2 separate regions of the Homo sapiens genome follow, and region 1 is linked to region 2. The links are contacts of gene promoters, found by promoter capture Hi-C in blood cells and fetal thymus (Javierre and others, 2016). All regions are on one chromosome and are shown on one strand. The core of a region is centred on a gene start or on the middle of the fragment in contact, and the rest is flanking DNA. Distances in the headings are between cores, read along the strand shown.

Region 1 (6,426 bases), core at 67-2,566, 920 kb after region 2:
ACACTTGGCAGAAATAATGGTTGGCAAAGCAGTGGAACATATTTTTGAGACAGAGGAAGGTTCCAAAAATGAATGGAGGGGGATGGTCTTAGCTCAGGCACCTGTCATGAACACATGGTTTTACATTACCTATGAGAAAGATCCTGTATTATATATGTACCAGCTCTTAGATGATTATAAAGATGGTGACCTCCGCATCCTTCAAGATTCCAATGATTCTCCTCTGGCAGAGAGGGAGCCAGGAGAAGTCATAGACAGCCTGGTAGGCAAACAGGTGGAATACGCCAAAGACGATGGCTCCAAGAGAACTGGCATGGTCATTCATCAGGTAGAAGCAAAACCCTCTGTGTACTTCATCAAATTTGATGATGATTTCCATATCTATGTCTACGATTTGGTAAAAACATCTTAGAGGTCATCTTGAAATTTGCCAAATATATGAGACTCTAAATCTGTAGACACAGAAAGTCTTGATTGCTTTCCAGTTTGTAAGAACCATCTTCTCCCTTTTTGCACGTTTTGCTTGGCAAAAAAATTGGAACTTCTGCCCTCTCATACGTTTTTGGAAGAAACCTTTTGCCCATCTGTCCAACCTTTTCACTGGTTCCTCTCCGCAATTTAACTGATTAGTGAGAAGGGTAAAGTCTGACATCCATTGGCTCATACTTTTTTTTATCTTGGGTGGTGTTAATAGATTAAAGGTAGCTGAACACCTCTCACCTCACTCTTTTTGGCACTTGGACTCTACACTCATTGAGGTGTGAAGCTTGCTGAGATATCCCATGTGACTGGCTGGGTAAGTGTCTTTGCAATCTCAAATCTCCCCCAAGTGGCTTCAAAAATCTAACTTGGGAAAGAGTGGGAAGCCCATTTTGGTCTCTTGTTCAAGTTGCATTCTCAGTTCTAACTGTACTAAAAGTAAGGCTAATAATTTTGCTCTCTTTCCGGTTCTTTCACCTATTGCTCAACTGTTTTAGAATTAAGAAGGTAATTACTTTGCATTTTAGTACCTAACCATAGGCTGAGAAACCTTGCAAAACTGATAAGAAGACAAGCATTTGGGGACCAAACTCCAAGTGGAGAGATCAAGATTTCTGGTGGAGCTTAAGTGAAAGGTTTTAGTCATCAGTGGCATTAGGGTCTCTCTTGTCTCCAATAGCTCTGGCTGGTATCTGCAGACATGGAGTAGGTTTTAACTGATAGAAGCTGTGCAGGCAGACTTTAGCACAAATGGTCTTTGCCAGCCCAGAGGAGCATTAAGCCAGGCTCTAGCTAGAGCCCTCAGTCACAGGCAAAGGCTGGGTTTGGCTGGGTTTGGACAGATCTGTCCAGAACCTCAAAATGAAAGAGGAGAAACCTAGAATCAAACTGAGATACAGATTTCTTTGCTGTGCTAAGAGAGACTCAAGTTTTAGATTTGATTCTTAGGAGACTGAATTCAGAGTCCCAGCATGTGAGGTGGGCAAGGCACTTGTGAGAACCAAGAATGGCTGAAAGCAGGCTATACTTCCTTGCAGGGACTGGTGGGCTCATCTATTATGGTATCCCAGCAGGACTTGGAACACAGTCAGTGGTAGGTAATCTGTAGGCTTAATGATGTTTTAAGTGCTGGCATTGGTAGATAGAAATCTAATAGATTTTTGTTAGTGTTTGGATTTTTAACTATCCTGTTTCTTGGCTGGCCCTAAGAAACTTATATGCAGATAAGGGTGAGTTCTACTGTGGCAGAAAAGTAAACAATGGAAGGGCCTTTGAGCTTTCCATTATTAAAGAGCCATTGGCGGAGGTTAACCAAAGCCTAGGAAAGAAAAGTTGAAGTACAAGCATGGTTTTTGAGAGAAGCACCTGGCCAAAACCAAAGCTTTCTCATTGAGGTTCTCACAGAAGCTCCATTAGCAGTAACAGCCTAATAAGGCCATGGAGTTCTGCACATTTGGGGCTGGGACTCAAGGCAGTACAATCATATTGGGACTGTACTGCAAGATATCTTCCAAATTAGTTTAAGTTCACAGGTCATGGAGTCCAGACTACCGGCACAGATTGGCATCCTGCTGAGGATGAAACAAAGAAGATGTTCTCTTTTCTCCTATGTTTTATCTGTCTACTTTTGCTTTTTGATGCCACTAAGTCTCTACTATGATGTTTGACTGACAACAGCAATGTGGGTCTGTATTGCCCTATGTTCTAAGTCCTGGGGTCATATATTTGCTTAAAAAAACTGTTCTAGTGGCTGGGGACTAGTGTGCTTTCTAATTTTTTTGATGTGAGGTTGATATTGTGATAATCTTATGTCTTCTTGACCCTTTGGACTCTTTAATATGTATGACATGCAATTGTGGGGTTAGATTAATTCAACTCCTGAGGTCCTGAAGGAACTTCACCCAGTCAAGAGGAAGACAGCCAAGGCTGCAGCTGCTGAAGGAACCCCATATCTGGGCAGACATCTTTGTGAGATCTATATGGCTGAAATGAGAAAAACGAGAAATTGGGAAAGGCAGAATTTTGGACTTTAATTATTTTGGACTTTGAATTAGAAATTTAATTTTGGGCAGTCCTTTTTCCCTTGGAGTTTAATAGTTGATGGGGTGGGGGTGAGGTCATATAGTTCAAACTAAGGCATTTTTATTATGTTGTTGATATTGTATTATTTGGAGTATTTTAATGCTATCTTTGGGAGTCATTGTATAATTGTTGTCAGCTATGTCAGGAAATATGGCTGGACATAATTGTAAATTAGGGCTGCAATTGTGATCAAATTTTCAGTCTAGGGTGTAATGTAGCCTTAGAGTTAATTTAATTACTGTTCTATTTTGACTTATTTCAGAGCCTCTTGGGGGCAAAAACAACTGCTCACCAATCTTACATTGATGGGAGCAGAACTTTTCTAAGATACTGTTGGTCTCCCTGGAAGGGGACAGCCACAGCCCTGTTTGTTGACCAGAGTCTTGAGCATTAACCATTGTGGCTTAAGAGAATGAAAATGTACAAGGGTATGATGGGATCTATCCTCTTCCTCTCTCCATGCTCCTGACTCAAGAAAAGGAAAAGACTTGCATCTCTCAAAAATGTTTGGAAGAAAGTTCTACCCATCTTCTCTTACACTCATTCAATCTTATGCTTGGGAGGAGGAATAACTTGATGAGATTGAGAAAATGGTTATAATGGATAGGCAGCTTAGGCCACTCTTGGATCTTGAGTTCGTTCCACACAGCAAGATGTGGGAAAGACTGCAGTCCTTCACTACATGGCTGGGTAAACATCTGCTTTCTAGACCCAACTATCTCTCCTTGGGGTGGGGGAATCCCAAAGTCGTTAGACTTATGATAGAAGTTCATTTCAGCCTCAGGTCCAAGCCATGTTCTCCAATCCAGCTCTATCAGCTATAAAGCTGGTATCTATTTTGATTCTTTTTTACAGTTTTAATATATAAATTGTTTTTTAGAAAAATAACACATGCCTATGGTAAAAGTCAAACAGTATAAAAGGGTATACTATTAAAAAGTAAGTCTCTCTTCCTCCTTCTCACCCCTGGCCTCAGTTCCCTGGTCCCATTTTCAAAAAGTAACAACTGTTACCAGTTACTGATGTATCATTCCAGAGATATTCCATGTATTTACAAGCATATTGTGTGTGGGTATGTGTGTATCAGGTTTTTTTTTTTTTTTTACACAAATGGTGGCATACTATACATGCTGTTCTGAATTTTGCTTTTTTCACTGAACAATATATTAAAGCTGATATCTTAATCCCTATTTGATTCCTGTGTATATTTTTTAATTGGTTCAGAATCTGGAAGGGAAGGAGGTGTAATTAATTCAAACCTTCAGACCCTAACCCAGTTTAATGAAAACTTACATGACCCTACAAACCCACAATTTCTGCCAGTCCAATTTTTCTCAAAAGTAGAATGTGAAATATATGTGAACATAACGTATTCTCTGAGAGGAACTTCTCAAGAGAGGCCAGTATATTTTTACTGAGGGAAGTTAAAAGGAAAACCAATTATATATTGAAGCTGTGGGGAAAGTTAAGGTACTATATAATTAATAAACCAGAAATGAAATGAACAATTATTTTTTTCTGTTTAAACTTGCACTCACATCTACTGCAATATGCAAATTCATATTTATAGCTTTGATTTGCCTTTTCTAACAGAACTTGCCTGCATGTAACAGGAAACCCATTTCAAACAGGCTTAAACTGTTACCAAACGTTGATCAATATAAATTTAAAAAAAATCTAGAGCTCAGATGGGCTTCAGGCATAGTTTGAATTGGGGCTCAGGCTCAGTGTTTATGATTCTTTAGGATTTTCCCTCTGTGTGTCAGTTTCATTCTCAGGCTGTTTTTTCTTATGGTAGCAAAATTGGACCAGCAGTTCCAGGCTACAGCAGTCCAATCTAGAGAAAGATAGATAACCTGTGTCCTATGATGTATTCTCAGCTGGCTTAGGTCAGATACTTTGACCAATCACTAAAATCTCAGGGATGAAATACACTGATTGGCTTAGCAAGGTCAGGTGTTCCATCCCTAACCTCTAGGGCAGTGGTCCCCAATTGTTTTGGCACCAGGAACTGGTTTCATGGAAAACAATTTTTCCACGGACAGGGTGGGTGAGGGGAGGGGGGTGGTTTGGGGATGATTCAAATGCCTTACATTTATTGTGCAATTTATTTCTATTATTATGTTCTAATATATAATGAAATAATTATATAACTCACCATAATGTAGAATCAGTAGGAGCCCTGAGCTTGTTTTCCTGCAACTAGACTGTCCCAAATGAGGGTGGTGGGAGACAGCAACAGATCATCAGGCATTAGATTCTCATAAGGAACATGCAACCTAGATTCCTTGCATGCACAGTTCACAATAGGGTTCATGCTCCTATGAGCATCTAATGCCACTGCTGATCTGACAGGAGGCAGAACTCAGGTGGTAATGCAAGTGATGGGGAGCAGCTATAAACACAGATGAAGCTTCGCTTGCTTACCCACCTGCCACTCACCTCCTGCTGTGCAGCCTGGTTCCTAGCAGGCCATGGACCAGTATTTGTCAGTGGCCCAGGGGTTGGGGACCCCTGCACTAGGGTATATCTCTCTGAAACCAGATGGATTTCCAGTAGAATCAAGGGCTTTGGGTAAATGAATAATGAATGCTATTCACCAATCACAAATATCTAGTATAGCTTCTTCATTTGAATACCTAGTATCCATGGACACATTTCTTCCTACACATCCTCTTTCAAAGAATGCCCACATGTAGGTGTGATAAATTCATGTCCCCAAAGGAGAAAAACCTGAAGTCTTATCTAGTTACTGCATTTAGCGTTAAGTTCAAGATCCCTAGTTGATATGCAGCCATCTTTAGATCCATCTTCCTTGCAGTCTGGTCACCTATACTTAAATTATAAACTACTCTTCTCAACATACCCAATATACACTAGTGGGGAGATAACCAGAGAAATATAATCAAAACTACCATTTGAAAAAGGGAGGAAATAGGAAACAATACATAGTAGCTTCTGGTCCAAAGCATATATCATAACCTGTTAGACAAGGACTACCTATCCTGGCAGTTGAGTGACTCCTTTGGTCAAATACCTCTTTGTGTTTTCTGAGACGTTCTCTCTTGGAGGCATATCTTGGGTGGATGCCCTTTTTGGGGGTTGAACTGGGCATTCTACGCCACTTCTTGCACCTGGGGGTTGAACAATTGGAGGTTTTTAAATTATTGGCTATAATTAGAGATTATTTAGTACAGTAGCTCTCACTTTAGTACACACCAGAATCACCTTGAGAACTTGTTAAAATACAGATTTCTGGGGCCCTCTTACAGAGATTCTGATTGAGCAAGTCTAGGGTGGGGTCCACAGGCTTATATTTATAACAAGTTCCCACATGAGACTGATGCTGCTGGGACCCCACATTGAAAATCACTGATTTATAGGTGGCAATTGAGTGAGGTCAGAGTTATTATTTCCTATACTTACCTGATAAGATTTACCTGGAGTGATTGTTAAATATAAATTGCTGAGTCCCATCTTAGATGTAATGAATCAAAATCTCTTGGGAAGGGACCTGGGGCAGCTGTACAAGATACCTCAGGTGATTCTTTATCATCAGTAATGATTAGGAAACACTGATCTAGGAAATTAGGTTTTTCTTGCTCCAATCTTATTTCCTAATAAGTCTTCCATCTGCTTGCCCTTGTTCTCACTAAGCTTAATTTGGGGCAAAAAAAACTTGGCTTTTCAAATCATACAAAGTTCCAAATTACCCACGTCTCTTTCCACTGGGATTTCACAAAACCAGTGAGTAAACAAGCAAAGTTTTATTTTCTTCTTTCACTGTTTTCAAGTAGGCCCATTTCAACAATGGAGATGTTATGCTTGATCTTGGCCTAAGAAGCACAGATCTGAGGGCCACAT
Region 2 (6,700 bases), core at 3,728-6,227:
GAGACTAACTCGGGAATCTACTGCCCTGCTTCTGCAAGGATAAGGCTCTGTAAGGCATGACTTGAAATGAAATCCAAGCACCTTTTATCTGTTTAACTCTGGTGCAGGAGAACAGAGCAGCATTTAAGGTATAAATTAAATTAGTCTATTCCTGAAGAGAACATTTGCTACTCACATTTATGGTGGAAGATGCAATCTCACAACACAACAAAGCTCTCCTTGTGAGTGGAGCAGGCCAATACTGGGTAGGGCTAGACTATAGGGCTCACAGGCTCTATGCCCTAAGCTACTGATGCCCCTTTGTGCCAGAGGCTGGGTTTTGCAACAAACTCAGTTCAGGTCTGGGAACACTGGGCCCACCGAGAATCCTAAATAGTCAACTAAAATCCCTGAAATACCCAGGCCTGTTTCTTTAATCATTAGTATTGTTTGCATACCTTTAGGAGGTACAAGCGCAGTTTTGTTACATGGTTATATTACCCACTGGTGAAGTGTAGGCTTACCAAAGCAAAAACAGGGTGGTAGATAATCTCCCTTGTGCAATCAACAACTATAACCCTGGCAGGTAGGGTGCCTACTATTCATACTGACTACAGAGAGCCTGGACTCCTCTAACCTGATAAAGGATATGAAGCCAGTTATCTATTTATTACCTCTTAGCTCCAAATTCACCAGTCAATATATATTCTTCGATAATAGAGGGATTCTTTAAGCATCTCTCCTTTAAAGTAGCATCAAAGAGCACGATGTTACACTTACTTAATAGAGGGCTCTGGAGGGACAGACATTGAAAAAGGAAGGGTACTTCTATGATTTCTGGCTCTCAGAGGTGTGGAGGTAAGGACATTCAGGATGCTTTGTCCCAGGCCTGGGCCCAGAACAACTGTCCCTCAGTAAACCTGCAGTCCTGGTGTGCCCTGATGATCAGCTTCTTGTGGCCCTCTTGATAGGGACATCCTGTACTCCAAGTCATCTGCCCACTGCTTCCCTCTGCTCACTTGCTCCGCAGCCACACACACACACACACACACACACACACACACACACACACGACCAGGTTCATGTAGTCCTTTCAATACTGCAGCCCTCTCAACACCGAGCCCCCACCCTGATCCTGTGCAAGGGGCATTGTTTACTCCAGGCCTCCAACTGAGACAGGACTCCCAACCCCTACTTCACACCACATACTAGGCACCAGCTATGGCTTGTCCACACTACCATGCTCCAAAGGGTGCCTTCTTGCTTCCTCTGCGACCGTAGACCAGTTCTGCCTCTGTAGACCAGCTTAGGTACTGGCAAACCAGTGGAACTTCTCTGCCATCCAGTAGGTTCTTCTCCAATTAGGTATAAAATCCATCCTTGGGGAGAAGCTTTCATTCTAAGCTTGTCTTTCCTTGGGTACTCTCTCCCAGCCCCAGAAAACCCCACATAGAGTTGTCTTGTATCCTATACAAGATCTTTTATCATCGCTTAATGATTCTTTATATTAAATTTTCCCCTTCTAGATCACTGTGTGCTTTCTATCTCCTGATTGGATCCATATTGCTGCAGAACACAACATCTACAGCAAGCATCATTCTTAATGGAGAATCACTGAAAGCTTTCTCTTCAAGAGCTACATCAAGTAAGGATATCCACTATCACCACTTCTATGCAATAGTTTACTGGGGGTAGGGGCGGGGTCCCAGGCAGAGCAGTAGGGCAAGAAAAAGGAATAAGATATTTGGAAAGGAAGAAGAAAGACTGGAACTATTTTCAGATGATATGACAGTGTATATAAAATTCTACAAAGTATTACAGACAAATTATTAGAATCGATAGAAGAGTTTATATGCTTATAGGATAAAATCTTAACGAACAAAAGCCAATTGTATGCTATTTAGAGCTATAAATTTAGACAATAAAAATTTCAAACATATGATTTGCAAAATATTAAATGCCTAGGATAAAAAAGTTGCCTTGTGGGAAAAATATAAAATAATATTTGGGCAAATTAAAGGTGATCTTATTAACAGAAGAGATAGACCATAACCACGAATCGAACATTCAATATTGAGAAGTCAAATCTAAAATATCAGCACAATTCAAATTAGAACCCCAAACTAGCTGTTGGTTGAAGTTTTTACGATTAGTTTATAATTTAAATGGAATTGAAATGGACCAAAAGTAGCCAAGACACTTTTGAAGAGCAAGGTAGAATTGATTTGCCTAATCCAAATATCAGAATTGACTATGGATCTGTAGTAATTAAGACAGTGTGGTATTTCAAACAGACAAGTGCTTAATAGAGAGTATAGAACTAGCCCACATATGTGTAGATACTTGATTTATGGCACTGTAAATCAACTGGCAAAAGGCAGACTTTTCAATAAGTGGTTCACTGAGAAAACTGGATATTCACTTACTTACATACATATATACATAAATGGAACTCTACTTAACACAATACACAAACATCAATTGCAGGTGGATTAAGACCTGACTATGAAGGACAATAGCAGACATATTTTAGAAGAAAATATAGAGAATGCTTTCATGGTCCAGGGTTCCTTAAAACAGAAAAGATTTCTTAAAACAAAAAAGCACTAACCATCAGGAAAAGAATGATGAAATTGACTATATTATAATTAATAGCTTCTGTTCACAAACCGGAGCACAAAGCAAGTGAATATACAAACAGAGCAAGGGAGTATTTTGGCCGCAGGTGTGGAAGAGTATTTAAAATATTTAACAGACTCATTAAGTCAGTATCAGATGAACAATAAAATAGAAACGTGGGTTAAAAGAGGTAAATTTGAATAGGCCTTCCTCAAAATAGAAACTCCAAAAGGCTCATTAACACAAAAATGTGCTAAAGCTTAATAGTAATTTGGATATTGCCCACCAGTAGACCGGCAAAATTTAAATTCGGGCAATACTTGGTGTAGGTGAACATGTGGATCAGTAAGGACTCTCTATGCTGCTGGTGGGATTGACAACTCTCCCAATCACTACAGAGAACAATTTGGCATCATCTAGTAAAGCTGAGGATATCCATTCCCTATGGCCCTGTGATTCTATTCTTGGATATATACCCTAGAGAGATTTTTACACGTGTCCCATTAGAAATGTGCAAGAATGTTCACAATAATCATTGAAAAGTAGAAGCAATCCTAATCTCCATCTGCTGTAGAATGGAGTGGAATAATCATACAATAATCACTTTGCTATAAGCATATGCTGGAAAGACAGTCGATGGAGACAAAGGATCTACTTACTTATAGCTATTATGAACAACATGGACGAGTCTCTCAAGTATAATACAGAGTGAAAAAAGCAAGCTATAAAAGGAAGCATGCCGTATGATTCCACTTATACAACTTCATATCAACTCTATTGTTTAGGGATGCGTACAAAAGTGATAAAGCTATAAAGGAAAGCAGTGAAATGATTATTACAAAGTCGGAGCAATTACTATATCTATATAGGAGAGTGTGGTTTGTGACTGGAAGGAGTACAGCAGCTGTATTCTGGGAGGTTGGCAGTGGTCTATTGCTTGACCTTGGTCCTGGTTAAGTAGGTGTCTGCTTTTGTAAAATAATCTAAACTATACAGATACGTTATATGCACTCTTCTAATTTCAGATTTGAAAAGTGCTTCCTCCAGAAAAAGTAATAGAAAGAAAAGTATGTGGAGTAGAAATTTTGATGAGGTTCGAATAGTTATGGTTGAAAAACTTGATTTTCAAGAGACCAAGTGTCCACTGTTATTAAAAGAGGGCGAGAGAGCTGGGAGTATTTAAACAACAGGTTACACCCCCCCACCCCCACCACCACCAATCTGTTCATCACTCTAAGCCTTCTCATCTCAGATATTTCACCCTATATTTGTGTCAATTCCAAACTCATTCGTGACAGACAAATTGGAGGATTGTCGTCATCATTAATAAGGACATTAGGCACCAAAGGCCCAGCAAGACTGGGCCACCACACTTAAATGTGAGCAGGTACACCGGGGCGAGTGGACAAGATCGTCTGTGCACATTACTTGGCAGAGTCCATTGAGTGACTGAGGGTTTAACCTTAACACATTTAACTGGAACTCCTGCCCAGAGAATGTGCTGGAGAATGCAGAATAAACTGAGCAATGCCCTCATTGTGCTATGAGAGTGGACATGAAGTTTATCATGGTACAACCGATCGTCGAAGGGCAAAGAGTTGGTTTAGGTTGTGCACTGTATAGGGAGAAGCCAGGGGCGGGTTGGGTTTTTTTCCAGATTTCAGTATAAATTGTTTCATCCTCCAGACTTTGCATTTGTAGGCTGAAGAGTGCTAATCTGTTTTGGCCGCATCTCTCACTCATTCTAATCTCTGTTATCAGCAGACAAAAATTGAACTATGTGGCAAATTGTACCGAGCACTTTGCTCAAGACAATTGTGAGTATGGAAGTTGTCCCGCGCAGAGGTGGGAAGGGGAAGGGCAATTTCCGCAGAAATGCCAGCACTATGGTGGTTTAATGCTGACACAGAGACAGTTTTTTCTCTCAGGAATTGTCTTTCATCCATCAATCCAGCCAGGTAGCCAGCCAATAAACAAATTTTAACACACAAAAAGTATGAAGCAACATGTCTAACACTGGGAGGGGCTGGCGTGTGTTTATTTGGGTATATACAATGAGTCACGGATTAAAATTGCTTTTACCAGATAGATACCTAGGTGTTCCACAGCATTATTGAACAAGATGTCGTCATTTCCCCATTACTTCAGAAGACCTCCTTAATTACTTATATTAATTGTAGAATATATTTATGCATACCAGGCTCTACCTCTGGGCTTTCTATTCCGTTCCAGAGACCCAGTACCAGAATATTTAAATCACTGTGGCGTTGAATACATTTTAATATCTGATAGGGCCAGTTTCTGCGCATTGCACATTTTTTTTTCCCCTTTCAGGAACGTGTTCAGGCCCGCGGCAGGGGGCGGGATCGCGCCTCCTCCTCGGCTCTGGTTCCAGCCGAGCCTCTCGGACGCAGAGATGGAAATCCCGAAGCTGCTCCCGGCTCGCGGGACACTACAGGGCGGCGGCGGCGGCGGTATCCCCGCGGGTGGCGGCCGAGTCCACCGAGGCCCTGACTCGCCGGCTGGCCAGGTCCCCACGCGCCGCCTCCTGCTGCCCCGGGGCCCCCAAGATGGCGGGCCCGGGCGGCGGCGCGAGGAGGCCAGCACGGCATCACGGGGCCCTGGCCCAAGCCTGTTCGCGCCGAGGCCCCATCAACCTAGCGGCGGCGGCGACGACTTCTTCCTGGTGCTGCTTGACCCGGTGGGTGGCGACGTGGAGACCGCGGGCTCCGGTCAGGCCGCAGGGCCTGTGTTGAGGGAGGAGGCCAAGGCGGGCCCGGGGCTCCAGGGGGACGAGAGCGGCGCGAACCCCGCGGGCTGCTCTGCGCAGGGCCCCCACTGCCTGTCCGCGGTTCCCACTCCGGCCCCGATCTCCGCCCCCGGCCCCGCCGCGGCCTTCGCGGGCACAGTCACTATCCACAACCAGGACCTGCTGTTGCGCTTTGAGAACGGCGTCCTCACCCTGGCCACGCCCCCACCACACGCCTGGGAGCCAGGGGCCGCTCCTGCCCAGCAGCCCAGGTGTCTGATCGCCCCCCAAGCTGGGTTCCCGCAAGCCGCGCACCCGGGTGACTGCCCAGAGCTGCGGTCCGACCTCCTGCTAGCCGAGCCCGCAGAACCCGCGCCTGCTCCGGCGCCCCAGGAGGAGGCGGAGGGCCTGGCCGCCGCCCTGGGCCCCCGCGGACTGCTGGGCTCTGGTCCAGGCGTGGTGCTGTACCTGTGCCCCGAGGCGCTGTGCGGGCAAACCTTCGCCAAGAAGCACCAGCTGAAGATGCACCTGCTGACGCACAGCAGCAGCCAGGGCCAGAGGCCCTTCAAATGCCCCCTGGGTGGCTGCGGCTGGACCTTCACCACCTCTTACAAGCTCAAGAGGCACCTGCAGTCGCACGATAAACTGCGGCCCTTCGGCTGCCCTGCGGAGGGCTGTGGCAAGAGCTTCACCACCGTGTACAACCTCAAGGCGCACATGAAGGGCCATGAGCAGGAGAACTCGTTCAAATGTGAGGTGTGCGAGGAGAGCTTCCCCACGCAGGCCAAACTCGGCGCCCACCAGCGCAGCCACTTCGAACCCGAGAGGCCTTACCAGTGCGCGTTTTCTGGCTGCAAGAAGACATTTATCACAGTGAGTGCTCTGTTTTCCCATAACCGCGCCCATTTCAGGGAACAGGAACTGTTTTCCTGCTCTTTCCCTGGCTGCAGCAAGCAATATGACAAGGCTTGTAGGCTGAAAATTCACCTGCGGAGTCACACCGGCGAGAGACCTTTCCTTTGTGACTTTGATGGCTGTGGCTGGAACTTCACCAGCATGTCCAAACTCTTAAGGCACAAAAGGAAGCACGACGATGACCGGAGGTTCATGTGCCCTGTGGAAGGCTGTGGGAAATCTTTCACGAGGGCCGAACATCTGAAAGGCCACAGCATTACCCACCTGGGCACAAAGCCTTTCGTGTGTCCTGTGGCAGGCTGCTGTGCCAGGTTCTCTGCTCGCAGTAGCCTCTACATTCACTCCAAGAAACACCTGCAGGATGTGGACACTTGGAAAAGCCGTTGCCCGATCTCCTCTTGTAATAAACTCTTCACATCCAAGCACAGCATGAAGACG

The links. Contacts are between HindIII fragments. The CHiCAGO score rates a contact against its expected background, and 5 or more counts as called.
Region 1: a contact is called between a fragment that was not itself captured here and the fragment with the promoter of ZXDA in region 2, in 3 of 17 cell types (total CD4 T cells, erythroblasts and activated CD4 T cells). The highest score is 10.2, in total CD4 T cells.

Annotation. Positions count from the first base shown.
Region 1 is chrX:56,988,157-56,994,582 of GRCh38, reverse strand. It overlaps SPIN3 (spindlin family member 3), which reads left to right. Exons shown (of 2, transcript NM_001010862.3): 2 at 1-3,752. The coding sequence ends at 412. Among named protein-coding and RNA genes, the nearest start is that of SPIN3, 4.2 kb to the left of the region's middle. The HindIII fragment of the contact is 1,095 bases long and covers 769-1,863 here.
Region 2 is chrX:57,908,735-57,915,434 of GRCh38, reverse strand. ZXDA (zinc finger X-linked duplicated A) reads left to right here and starts at 4,977. Exons shown (of 1, transcript NM_007156.5): 1 at 4,977-6,700. The coding sequence starts at 5,015. RefSeq lists a silencer at 5,550-5,809. The HindIII fragment of the contact is 7,022 bases long and covers 2,860-6,700 here.